Regions from separate parts of the Homo sapiens genome. Here all the other regions are linked to region 3. Evidence: promoter capture Hi-C in 16 types of primary human blood cells and fetal thymus (Javierre and others, 2016). All regions are on one chromosome and are shown on one strand. Each heading gives the region's core, a stretch centred on a gene start or on the middle of the fragment in contact. The rest is flanking DNA. Distances are from core to core; before and after follow the strand shown.

What was found. Contacts are between HindIII fragments. The CHiCAGO score rates a contact against its expected background, and 5 or more counts as called.
Region 1: a fragment that was not itself captured here is called in contact with the fragment with the promoter of MMS22L in region 3 in 1 of 17 cell types (erythroblasts); the score reaches 6.6 in erythroblasts.
Region 2: a fragment that was not itself captured here is called in contact with the fragment with the promoter of MMS22L in region 3 in 1 of 17 cell types (erythroblasts); the score reaches 5.5 in erythroblasts.

What each region holds. Positions count from the first base shown.
Region 1 is chr6:97,166,260-97,171,090 of GRCh38, forward strand. It overlaps MMS22L (MMS22 like, DNA repair protein), which reads right to left. Exons shown (of 25, transcript NM_001350599.2): 20 at 1,812-1,981. Among named protein-coding and RNA genes, the nearest start is that of MMS22L, 110 kb to the right of the region's middle. The HindIII fragment of the contact is 1,015 bases long and covers 2,999-4,013 here.
Region 2 is chr6:97,187,258-97,191,599 of GRCh38, forward strand. All of the region lies in intron 14 of MMS22L (MMS22 like, DNA repair protein), which reads right to left. Among named protein-coding and RNA genes, the nearest start is that of MMS22L, 94 kb to the right of the region's middle. The HindIII fragment of the contact is 804 bases long and covers 1,755-2,558 here.
Region 3 is chr6:97,280,138-97,284,862 of GRCh38, forward strand. MMS22L (MMS22 like, DNA repair protein) reads right to left here and starts at 3,079. Exons shown (of 25, transcript NM_001350599.2): 1 at 2,959-3,079; 2 at 2,177-2,416; 3 at 1,100-1,225. The coding sequence starts at 2,340. RefSeq lists enhancers at 2,656-2,915, 3,296-3,355. The HindIII fragment of the contact is 13,882 bases long and covers 1-4,725 here.

The sequences.
Region 1 (4,831 bases), core at 2,256-4,755, 110 kb before region 3:
AATATTAAATGCTACTAAATATAGATAATCACCAACACAGCAATACATTATATTATAAAAGTTAACTCTTAATTTGGTACTTGGTGACTCACAACGTATTTTCCAAGAGAAATAATTTAAAATGTTTGAAGTCTCCATTTTAGTTGTAAACGGGTACTTACCCAATAAGAAATTCTGAAAGTTTATTTGTAATGAAAAATAGCATACAGCTGTTAAAACTGTACCAAATAAACAACTGAAAAAAATCAAACAATGAACCCCTCCCCCAACCCACCCGCCACCACCAACTCTGTTTCTTGAGTAGTTTAAGGAAAAGCACATTAAATCAGAAGAAGATGAAGTAATAAATGAATATTTTCTGAAAATTCCGAAGAGGAGAGCTGGGTACCATGAAGAAATTAAAGACATAGCTCCAGTTCTACCAAACAGATAATACACCAAACTTTTAAATTTACCACTTACGAAGCTTAAGAGAATTCTTATTAAATGGACTGTTTGGGTTTAAGAGGACCACATGGAAGAAATATTCCAGACTCTCCTGCTGCTCACCACTCCCCTCTATTCATCTCTCCCTCTGTGGGATTGGCGGTTCAGGCTGTGGTGTGGCTGCCTCCCCTTTTTGTCATTCTGCTAGATTAACACACTAAACTTCATTTTAAATGCTATTATGAATAAAAATTAGAGGGAAAATTTAAAACTTCTCAGGAATCTTAAAACTCTGTTAAGAAATACATCTTTGAAAAAAGATTGTTACATAATCAAAATCCATTTTCCCTTTCCTCCTCAGCTTCCCTTGTTGGACCTCAAATTAAGAAGCACTTATCTTTAACATCAGACACTAATGAATAATAAAGTACACCTCCAGTCTCATCCTTTCCTGAATGGCAGATCAATATTTCCAACTGCCTACCTCAAACTAAAGCTGCTCAGAAACCAATCCTTACCTTCATCCCGACATCTCCAGGATTTCCCACGTTAGTAAGTAGAACTACTATCTACGCAGATAGCCACTCTGGAATCTAGGAAGCATTTCACTTCTTTGAGTTCCTCCACAACACTCAATTAGCAAGTACTCTTAATCACAGCTCCCAAATGTTTTTGAAATCTGCTGTTATGGGTTTTATTCCCACTGCCTTAGGTCAAAACCTTCTGACAATATGTGGATTATTACAAGGAACTAGTTACCACTGCTTTCCAAAACCTCCACACCAATTATCTTACATATGACCACCAGAATCATCTTTCTAAAATGTAAATATCATTATGTCACTTCTACTTCTCTGCTCCAAATTCATCAGGTCCCCATGTAAAAGATTAAGTCCAAACTTCTTAGGATGGAATATAAAGCCCTCCATTACATGGCTCCTCCCATATGACTCTCCAGCCACAACAGAACCATTCTATATTTTCTTAAAGCTCATGCCCTTGTACATGTTGCTCCCTCTGAAATGAAAAGCCCTCCAACTCCTACCCATTTTGCTCTTTTACCTCTGATGTCCTCTACAGTGTATTCTCTTATATCTCCTCACCCATAGTCTAATAGATGAGGTCTGAAAAAAAAAATACTGAGCACACTACCATAAGTGTCTGTGCTCATCTACCTCCTCTCTCAACTTTAAGCTCCTCTGCTTTTTCATTTTTGTTTCCAAAGCCAAACATAAAAGCAATTTAAAATATGTTCAATAAATGTGCCACACAAGCATTTGAGATTATAATGTACAGTTTTTAAATCTGCATTTAGTAAACTATGTTTTTAAGGCAAAGTTTCAATATTTTTTTTTTAAACTTTTAAGCAACCACAGATACTATACCTGGAGATACAAAGGAAGACTTTTCTGAATTGCTGACAACATAGGTGCAGGCAGTTCCTTCTCTTGCTGTAATACTGCATGTGGCAGCAGTAAACAATCTATGATCCGGAATAGTAATTTTTGGGCTTTAGAAGTGGCAAAGATTTGTGCCCATGATTTCACAAGAATTCCTAACAAAGAAGAGAAGTAACAGCATGTTGTTGTTATCCTCTGACCAGAACATTTTGTCACTTAATTTAAAAATTTGTATTGAAAGCACATGGGACCAAATTAAAGTAGGGAATAGGAAGAGACATATAGTAGAAGTAACAAATATTTATGTCAATTCATATATTTCACTAAAGAGACAAATTTTTCATAGAGTTTTGGGCCAAGGAAAACATACATTTTCCGAGCAACTGGCATTTAATATATACACTGGTTAAGTATCCCTAATCTGAAAATATAAAATCTGAAACGCTCCAAAATCCAAAAGTTTGTGAGTGCCAACATGATGATCAAAAGAAATGCTCATTAGACCATTTCAAATTTCACACTGTTGGATTAGGGGTGCTCAACTGGTTAAGTATACTACAAGTATTCCAAAATCCAAAAAAATCTGAACTCCAAAATACTTCTAGTCCCAAGAATTTTAGACAAGGGCTAGTCAACCTGTTTACACTCACACATACAGTGGAATATATTTATACATTATGTGACTACATTGGCTGAATGTTGAAATTATTCAGGATTTCCCTTTCTGCTTTCCCTCTGAGTTGCTAGGATGCCCAAATGCAAATTAACAATCCACCTTTTAAAGAATACTGTAGGATTATACATTATGGTTTTATATGCATACTAATTTTCCCTGGGCCTCACCATGAAACTCTATATTTATTTGTTGGTACCCCTATTTCTTCATATTTTAATCTTACATGTAAGTGGCCTCAATCCAGTTTGCAACAGAAGTATAATTAAATTTAATTGTTAATACATGGAAAGCAGGATTAGCTATAAGCTAATCACTTAACCTCCACCAACTTCAGTTAACCTCCATGAACTTCAGTTTTTACACCTTTCCATTATTTAATATAAACAAACAAAATTTTAATTCTGAATGAAGAGAAACAGATTTCTTTGCTACTTGAAATATATTATGGCTTCCTTGGTGCTAGAAGTCTGTTAATTGCCACATCTGATGATAATAAAGCTTAACAAATGAGCACCCTTTGTTTAATAAAGTAATTAAGAGCAGATATATAATTCCCATTAGGATATATTATTACTATTGAGGTCTCCTTACTGAAAAATGAATTTAAAAACAGATTAAATGCTTATCCAAAAAGCACAGTGGTACATCTACTGCATAAACTTTTATATTTTATTCCATCCTAGAAAGCAAAAACGATAAAATTCAAAGTCATTTCCATCAAATAAAGAGTTTAAAATTTAAGCTCTGAAGGAAAACCAAAATATGCTTATGGAAAAGTATACTGATGTTAAAGAAAAAAACTCAACAAATTATCACTTTTAAGAACAAACAGCAACATTCATCTTTTGTTGTAAAAGGAAGTACAATAATCAATCATAAAGAAACAATGTTCACTTAGCAAAGTTTTAAATAATGCTGGCTTGCTCCTCATTTCTTCAGTTGGTGGAGAATTTCAGTATGACAGCAATATTAGAAGAACTTATATTCTAAAAACATTAATATACCTGTAAGGGGAACTGCTATCATCACTGGCATATGAAATGATTCTTATTACTCTCAGGTGCAATACAGGTATGTTTCACTTTCTACAGTTTTAGTTACCCGTGCTATAGGGTACCACATGGTATAGTTTAGTTACCGGTGATATAGGGTACCACGTGGTATAGTTTAGTTGCCCGTGGTATAGGATACCAATAAGATATTTTGACGAGGGGGTGGGGAAGGCAGTCAGAGAGAGACACAAAGTTCACATAACTTTTATTAGAGTCTATTGTCACAACTGTTCTATTAATACTATTATTAGTTATTATGTTAAACTCTTATGTGCCTTATTTATGAATTAAACCTTATCATAAGTATGTATGTATAGGCAAAAACACAGCATACATAGGATTGGTACTATCTGCGGTTTCAGGCATCCACTAGTGGTGTTGAACATATCCCTCATGAATAAGGGGAAACTACTGTATTTCATTTTCTGCAACGGTTGAAACACTTTGTTGAAGACTGTAAGCTTTAGGAGTTCATATAAGGTGGAGATATTTGTTTTACTCCTTGCTATCAGACACCTACTTTTTAGGTTTCAGCAATGAATATTTGTGTGTGTGTTATTAAAAATGCAAAATGGAAATATAAAAAGATTTTTAAAGTAAAAAACTGGGAAAGGTTTAAATACATACAGTACCTTTGTAAAAACCTAAGTTTTTTTTTTTCTTTTTCTGGCTATAAATATATTATTTATTAACAAATAAAACTGAAAATACAAAAAAATTTAATACAATCTCTCCATTCAATGATAACCACTATACAAGCTCTTGAGTATTTACTCATTTTCTATCCTCTGTATTTTCTATCCTATGTATTTTGCCTACTTTCTACCCTACGTAAAAATTGGGATCACTACAATATACATTTTTAAATCTTTATAGTTAGAAAGTAATTTTGTTCATTTAAGAACATTAAAAGCTGCGTACAGCGGCTCACACCTGTAATCCCAGCACTTTGGGAGGCTGAGGCAGGCAGGCTGCTTGAGCCCAGGAGTTCAAGACCAGCTTTGGTAACATAGTGAGATCCTGTCTGTAGTAAAAATACAAAAATTAACCAGGCATGGTGGTGCACATCTGCAGTCCCAGCTACTCAGGAGACTGAGGCACGAGAATTGTTTAAACCCAGAGGCAGAGGTTGCGGTGAGCTGAGATCACGTCACTGCACTTCAGCATAGGTGACAGAGGGAGACTCTGTCTCAAAAACAACAACAACAAAGAAAAACAAAAAGAACATTAAAAAATATATACTATTGCTAGATTAATAAAGTCATTAAATTCCATAA
Region 2 (4,342 bases), core at 907-3,406, 94 kb before region 3:
TCTTCATAAAATAATAAAACATAATTCGATACTGCCTCAAATTTTGATTAATCATTTACTCACCTTTGCTGATTAATTCAATCGAAAATTTAGATATCTCTAGACCTTAATAGAAACGTGCAGGAAATTGAGGTTACCAAAGAGAGGGAAATAAGAGATCTTCTTAGTGATGTGGAACAGAAGGCATTTATGTTGTGCACCCACTGATAATATGATTATTTAAAACTAAATGTACAACCATGCTATTATTCCTGTTTCTGTTTATATTACTGCCAGATCAACTGAGTAGACATAAATGCATGGATACATTTACATTTGCATTTTTTTTTCAATTATACAGAAAGCAGCAAAAAATAACCAATGGAAATTATGGAGAAGACTTCCTTTAATAGAGATAGCATTCCACTAAGAAAAATAATTAAGTACTTTAAAAAAGATGTTTGATGTTTTTAAACAGTTTAGGGGAAGTGGATAACATGAAAGAACTATACAAAACACAGAACTAGCATGTGTATCTAAAGCAATCCCACAAAAAGATCAAGCTGGTTATAAGATCACATCTTAGAATATTTCGCATAACTACCCAAGAGTGAGTAAAAATTCTAAGTATAAACTGTATAACATTAGGGCCTTGAGCCCCTTTACATTGGAATTCCTGGAAAATTATGGGATATTACTTAATACTACAGGAAATATTCAAAAAACAAGTGAACAAATGGCTGGGGAAAGAGTATACAGTAAACAATTCTCATAAAAGCTAACCAAATATCTGCTATGTCCTCTCTGTAAAAACTTCTTGAGATGCTTTCAACTTGAACTAGTGGCTAGAGAACCATTTCAGTTCCTTTATCTTAGAGTGAGATAAATAACAAACCACTAAAATCTATCTGGCAACTAACTCAACTGCCTATATCAACATAGCAAAGTTCACAGTACATTTCTACACAGTGGAATCCATGTAAAATAATACCACCATTTCTACTGCCCTTTATAGCTTTTTCAAAGTATATTGGTTTCAAAAGACAATAAATAACTTATGGTACTTGAGTAGGATGGATTTTGCTCACCATATCTAAAAAAGCCATTTTATTTACTAACTAAAACCTATTCCCTAGGAAGGAGTAACATTTCTGATCGACCTCTATATATGTGCTAGAAATTCCTTAAATTAATTAAATTCTTTTAAAATCGGAACAACTCTATGAGATAGGTATCATTAATCCTCTTTATAGATGACGAAGCTAACAGTAGGAAAGCTAAATATGCCCAAAGGTCACATGGCTAGAAAGGGCTGGCCCCATCATCTGAACTTAAATCTGACTCTGAAGCCCACTTTTCTTTTTACACACTAAGACATGCACCCTTATGCGCCTACACATACACAAGTTTTAAGTGAATTAAACATTGATAAATTATCTTCTCTTTCTACTTAGGTTAAAGAAATTTCATCCCAGCACTTTGGGAGGCCAGGGTGGGTGGATCACTCGAGGCCAGCAGTTCAAGACCAACCTGACCAACATGGTGAAATCCCCTCCCTAATAAAAATACAAAAAAATTAGCCGGGCATGATGGTACACGCTTGTAATCCCAGCAACTCAGGAGGCTGAGGTAGGAGAATTGCTTGAACCCAGGAGGTGGAGGTTGCAGTGAGCCGAGATTGTGCCACTGCACTCCAACTTGGGTGACAGAGCAAGACTTTCTCAAAATAATTTAAAAATAATAATAATAATAAATAAAATAAAGGAATTTCAGAAAGCTTAAGAAAAGGGGCTGGAAAAGCCACATGTAGCTGTGTCTTTTGAAGGGCCAGGAGCAACATCAGAATTCTAACATTAGGAAAGACTATAAGAAGAGATGCTAGAAAACATGTATTCAAGGCAATAATGAGAAAGGCCAACAAATGTGAACCACCTTTGACCTCTCCACAACAAAACGTTGAGGTACCAGGGAGTATAAGTATGAGCTAACGTGGGGATAGGACTCAAAGTTCTGAATCCATTAGGTTTAAAAAAAAAAAAAAAGCCGAGTGCAGTGGCTTATACCTCTAATCCCAGCATTTTGGGAGGCTGAGGTGGGTGGATTGCCTGAGCTCAGGATTTCAAGACCAGCCTGGGCAACATAGTGAAACCCCATCTCTATTAAAAATACAAAAAATTAGCCGGGCGTGGTGACATGTGCCTGTAGTCCTAGCTTCTTGGGAGGCTTAGGCTGGAGGATTGCTTGAGGCAGAGGTTGCAGTGAGCTGAGATTGCACCACTGCACTCCAGCCTGGGCAACAGCGAGACTCTGTCTCCAAAAAAAAAAAAAAAAAAAAAAAAAAAAGAATAATTAATTAAAAAAAAAAAACCATTGTGAGGTAAAAAATTTTAAAGCTATAGATTACATCCTCCAAGGTTGAGTTAAAACAGCTAAGACAAGTTTCAACTAAGGGTAAGACACTGACCCCAAACCACACTTGTGTTGGAAATGTGCACCCACTTTGTGTTTTTGGATTTGAAAAGCAGCTAATATCCCCGGGAATATGCAAAATGTTTCCTGCTCAATAGTTTGAAAGTTCAAGCTTTTTCAGTCTGGATAAGAAGAAATGATTACCTGCTATTTTAAACCAGAACCTAGTTGTTTAAGACCTTATAATAATAATTTATTTAAGCATAAAGAAATCAGTGAGTGACAAATACAGGAAATGCCAAGAGTGCACTGTAATAGAAGTCTGAAGGAAGAACCAAATTTTTGCACTATAGCCAAATAGCTAGAAATACTCCTTGCAGACACTGGTAATTTTTTAAAATCACATGTTTGAACCAGAAAACTAATTATACAGACTACTGAAAAATAAATTATATTAGATGTGACCACTGCATATCTGCTGAAGGTACATTTACAAAAATGCAAAGAAGAAGCTCTGTCACTAGAGGTAACAATGTAAAAGAAAACACAAAACATACATAAAATATTATAAAGAATGTAATATAGTTCTAGGTGATGGCTGTTTTATGAGGCATTATTTACCTTCTTCAACACAAACAGTAGAAATATGTAAGTAGATTTTTTGCATAAAAGGAAAAATATGTGATTTCTGGTCAGAAACTGAAAGACATAACACAAGGATGTAGGATCTCCCAACACTTGGCAATTGTTTTATTTGAGTAAAGACAGATTTCACATTAAGATCAGTTTGGAAATACAAGATCAGATAAGGAAATACACACATGTAACCAGCTCTCTTACATTATAAAAGATACAATACAGTATAGTAGAAAATAAATTTGCTGAATGTCAAGTTATTCAAATTGCAGCTCTCATGGTGGAAATAACAGCAACATCCAGCATTTACTGGTATTTACTATGAGACCAGCACCATGCAAAGTGTTTTATAAGCATCGTTTCTCACCCTATGAGGTAGGCATAATTATTATTCAAATCTTATATATGAGAAAATTGAGACAAAAGGAGTAATTATGCTGCGTAATAAACATGGTTATTAGCATAGCTATCCAGAGCAGTGTGGCTTTGGAAAAACAAGTAACCTCCCAACTCGCTGTTTTCTTTAGAGTCAAGAACAGGAACAATTGTTGCTATATCCACCTAACAGGGTTATTGTGAAGACCACAGGAAATAACATTCTGAAAAGTTTAGAAGCCTATCATTACACTATATAAACACCCACACTTTCACATACCAATTATCCAGGTGTTCCTACGCTTCTATTTTAGCTCAGTTACCCTGCCTCCTTTAGCTTTCCTCATTATCTTCAAGTATTTTCCTGATTCTTTCATCTGACTGCTCTTTTGCCCCACTTTCCAAGATTTCCTGTTTTTATTTGTCTGCTACTTCTTGCTTTGATTTCATGTTTACTTATCCATTTTGCCCCCACCTCTCTACTCCCACACAGATACCTTATCCCCACAGACACACAAATTTATTGAGGCATCTATCATATGAGACGCATGGAACCCTGTACCTGAAACTTCTACCTGCCAGTCTGGTCTCTCAGTTTCTGCTCCTCCCTAGTAACTTAGGCAGGCTTCTGGGAACACTTACTGGACCACTGCTTATAGTTTTCGCCTCTAATCTTGGCATACCATTGTTTCTCCTATAACTGTTATAGAATAAGGTATGACATCCTATATACCACTTTCCTGGTATTCACAGTTGTATATTAATTATTTCTAATACATGATGCCTCAAAGTTTAAGGAAAATTAAAATTGTCTATTGATGGACTTTTCATCACATGGAAAAAGCATAATATAATAAATATGACTGGTAAGGATTAACAGCAATAATTGAATTCTTTTAACTCTACTGCAAACATGGTAACTTTAAAAAAATCTTTATTAGTG
Region 3 (4,725 bases), core at 1,829-4,328:
CTTCAAAAGGTTTCATGGGATGATGGTGAGAGAATTCCTTCCACCTCTCCATTTTCCTTTAAATGTATCACATATAGATTTTTACTGTGTTTTGGAATAATTAGCTTTCAATAACTGACTCCTGTTTAAAATTACCTAAAATCTGAATATGAACTGTGTCTTAAATGATAATGAAGAACTTTAATTTTTATTAATTGAGATGAGTTTTTTTTTTGAGACAGAGTCTCGCTCTGTCACCCAGGCTGGAGTACAGTGGGCAATCTCAAATCACTGCAACCTCCGCCTCCTGGGTTCAAGCAGTTCTCCTGCCTCAGCCTCCTGAGTAGCTGGGATTACAGACGCATGCCATCACGCCTGGCTAATTTTTGTATTTTTAGTACAGAAGGGGCTTCACCATGTTGGTCAGGCTGGTCTCGAACTCCCGCCTCGGCCTCCCAAAGTGCTGGGATTACAAGCATGAGCCACCGCGCCTGGCCGTCCTCATCGTTTTTAAAAAGCACATATTTTTAAGAAATTCATACTGAAGTATTTATGGGTGAAACGACATGATGCCTAGGATTTCCTTACAAATACTTAGGCCAAAAGAAGAGGAGACAAGACAGATGAAGGAAATGTAATAAAAAGTTGTTGTTTACTGCAACTGAAGGAGGGTATATGGATGTTCATTATATTATTATTTTGTGTATGCTTAAAATTTTTCATTAAAAAAATTTTAAATGTTGTCCAAATAATTAATATTTCTATTACACAGTCTAAACAATTTATTTGTTAAGACCATACTCTAAAGATCACTGAAAGACTATGGCTATTGCACAACAAAAATATTTTAATTTTCTTCTAAAAATTATAGTTCAAAGCCTTAAATATTTGTCAATACATGTGTCAAATGCAAAGAATAAAGATTCTGAAAACGCAACTCATTAAAACCATTACTCATCAGGCATTGCTGCTTGATTATTGTTACTGGTAAGATAATCAAGTGAGCAACCAGCACAATTCCTCTGGTCTTTTGTAATATCAGTATTAGAAGCCACCCAACAACGTAATTTACAAAAGTGAACAACACCTACACTCACAGAAAGTTATAACGAAGAAATACCTGAATAAATGAAAGAGTTCTCTAGATGAATTCACTAATGCTGTTTCAGTAACCCACTGAATGCCAAATATTTCCAAGGTATCTTCTTCAAAATTAGTTGGTAAAGGGTCAAGATTCAAAATCAATCTGAAATGAAAATTGTTTCAATCTCATAAAAAGTATACTAAGTACCATAATACGACGGCTCTTTTCTTTACATTATTTGAATCCATATTATACATGACATGTATAAAAAGTCAGAAAATGCCTTGGTACTTTACACATTCAAGATTACAATAGCTAGACTGTATTAAAACGTCAATCTTCTATATTGATAAAATGTACGACTAAAGTGTAATGTAACTTAAGAGGAAAAATCAACAAGAATTCTAAAAAACATATTTCTGCCTGTCTTCACCAGTAGTCTTCAGTTGTAGAATTTCATCCTTTGAGGGGACATTTAATTTTAAAACTGCTAACAGTTATTCTGAGCCATGTCTGGAGAATAGTATCCAACTAATGAAGTTGAGTATTCTATTTAAGATTTCTAACAAGGTACAACTATAAGGTCAACAAAAATAGTTTCCTCACTGAAACTGCCTCAGCAGGTATTACCAAAATATTTCAAGAACAGTTTTACTGTAATATATATGTACCTGCCCAAGGCAAAATAAGTCTATACACTTCTATATGTGCAGGTAGGATTAGAAGGAACAGGGGCAATAAAAAATGTTTGTCTCTCTTAAATATTACTGGAAAGCTCTAGAATATTATCACACTCTTTAGAAGGAAATACTACTGCAAAAGGCTCAGATAGTTAGGAATTCATTTTAAGTAGAAGAAAAATTAGTGCCCAGCTCCCTACAGTAAGGGAACATCAGTTACCAAGGAAGTTTTCCCTAATACCCCAAATACTTTAGATATGCCCTTACCAAGAAGCCAGCAGAACTGATAATCATTTGTACCCTTATGATATACTAAGCTGATTTATAAAACACGACTTGGTGAACACCAAAGTTTAATGGGCTGAAATAACTAACATTCCTAAAAAACTGGTGAATAATCAGATGAGGGAAAATGTCTCTGAGTTTTACCTACCGCTTAAGGGCTCCGCTGCAGAGGTAGGATTCTCCAGAAAAATGTTTTCCTCCTCCTCTGTTGTCAACAGCACAAGAAAAGTAAGGAGGTTTGCACCATTCCGTCCCCAGCTCCAGCTCTAAGCTGTCAGTCAGGAACGTCGATGCAGCAGAACAGTTCTCCATTGTTTACTTCATGTTCTGAAACACTTGGGGTTCGTCGTATCATTAAGGGCTCCAAAGAGAAGGTGTGAAGAGATTCCTGTTGGGGGGGGGGGGGTGGGGCCGAGAGAGTGGGGATTACTTCAGAAAGTTCTCAAGACGTCCGCCAGCAGGAAGGAAAAACAAACGAACAAACCCAGAGGCCAAATTCCCAATTCCCCCTCGCCCTCCGTCCATCAAGGCTGTCAGAACTTAAGACAAAATGCACAACCAACTGGCTGTGGCAGGGACCTCGAAATCCGGCCACTAAGTCGGGCTCTGCAGCCCAGGACAAGGTGAAAAGCAAAGAAATGTCTGCAGGACATAGCGTCCCGGGCTTGCCTAGAACTGCGCCCTCCGCAACGTTTCTAAACCACTCTCCGCCCGTTTCCCAGCAGCAGGGTGGAGAACGCTCCCTCCCCGGCTCGGGGTGGAAATTAGGAAAGCAACCCCTAGGGCCAACCCCGACCCTCCAAGGAGGAGGCGAGACCCACCAGGCCCACGCCTGGCAGCACTCGGGCGGAGAAGGCGGGGTGCCGGTATCCCGCGTACCCGGCTGCAGCAAGGACCCGGGGCGTCGGTTACCCGCGGTGCCTGTCGTACCCGCTCACATTTCCAGCTCCCGAAACCTGCCTCCTGTGACCCAGACCACCAACAGGAATCTTTGGGGTCTAAACCGCAAACAGGCGAAATTCCCGCCACCGCGCGCCCGCGCTCCGGAAAGGCGGGGCCACGGCGCAGCCCTCCCCCGGCTACCAATCGCCTCGCGATATCTGCGCGGAAACAGTCGGAGCCCCACGAATTCTCGCGAGAGTCCGTCAGTCCGGGACGAGGTACTGAGAAACTTTTTTTTTTGTACCTTTAATTGGTGCGTTCGGCTGAAAGGCGGGGCCTGGTAAAAAAAAAAAAACAGAACTGCTGCTGAGGCGGAGGAGAGGACTTAAGGACTATGGGTTTATCCTCTGGCCGGACCAAAGAGAAGATATTTACTCCAGTGAGTGCGAAGTGAGTGCCTCGTTCACACCCACAGTCGCGCCGTCCCCTCTTCCCGCTCTGGGGCCAGCAACTCTTGTTAGAATGCAGATGCCTTTTGTCCATGGACTGTGAGGCAGGCAAGTGCAACAATTAATTTTCTCTGTAACAGATGGAACAAGTAGACAGAAAATTAGTATGGATATGGAAAACTTGGAAAGCACTAACCAACTTGACCTAATTGACGTTTATAGGTGACCAACCCAACAATAGCAGAATACACACTCCTGTCAAGTGCACATGAAACATTCACTAAGCGATACCATATTCCGAGCCATAAAACAAATGTCATCAACTTTAAAAAGATTTAAATCGTACAAAGTGTATAGTCTGATCATAATGGCATTAAACTAGAAATAAAGTAGATACTTGAAATACTCTAAATATTTGGAAATTAAGAATCATACTTCTAACTAACCTGTGAATCAGGAAAAATCACAGGAAAATTAGAAAATACGTTGAATTAAATTAAAATGAAAACACTAAAATTTGTAACAGTACCTGCTTACATTAAAAAGAAGAACTCAATTCAATAAACTTTTGTCTTAAGTAACTAGAAAAAACCCCCAGCATATTGAAACCAAAGCAAGCAAAATGAATGAAATGATAAATAGTAGAAATAAATGGGATGAAATAAATGGAAGGAAATACATGCAAAAGTTGTTTTTCTAAAAGAGCAATATAATTGATAACCCCCCTACCCAAACTGATAAAGAAAATAAACAAATTATCAGTATCAGGAATTAAAAAGGTTTCATCACTATGAAATTTAGTCATTAAAAGGACAAGGATATTAAAAGAACATTATGAACATTTTTATGCCAATAAGCATAGGTGAAATGGACAAATTCCTTAAAAGACGCAAACTGTCAAAAATCAACAAAAGAAGAAAATTTGAGTATCTCTGTATTTATCGTAGTACTCAGAATCTTTGGTTAAGCCTCCCTCCTCTCTCTCTGCACACACACACACACACACACACACACACACACACACACACCACTTCTTACAAGAAAACTTCAGGCCAGGGCAGGCACAGTGGCTTTGGGAGGCTGAAGTAGGTGGATCCCTTGAGACCAGGAGTTCCAGACCAGCCTGGGCAACATGGTGAAACCCTGTCCCTTGTCTCCACAAAAAAAATACAAATATTAGCCAGGCGTGGTGGTGCTCATCTGTAGTCCCAACTACTTAGGGAGGCTGAGGTGAGAGGATCACTTGAGCTGGAGAGTTCGAGGCTGCAGTGAACTGTGAGTGTGCCATTGTACTCCAGCCTGGACAACAGAGCAACACCATTTCTCAAAAGCAACAAAACAAACAAACACTCTCCAGGCCAAATGG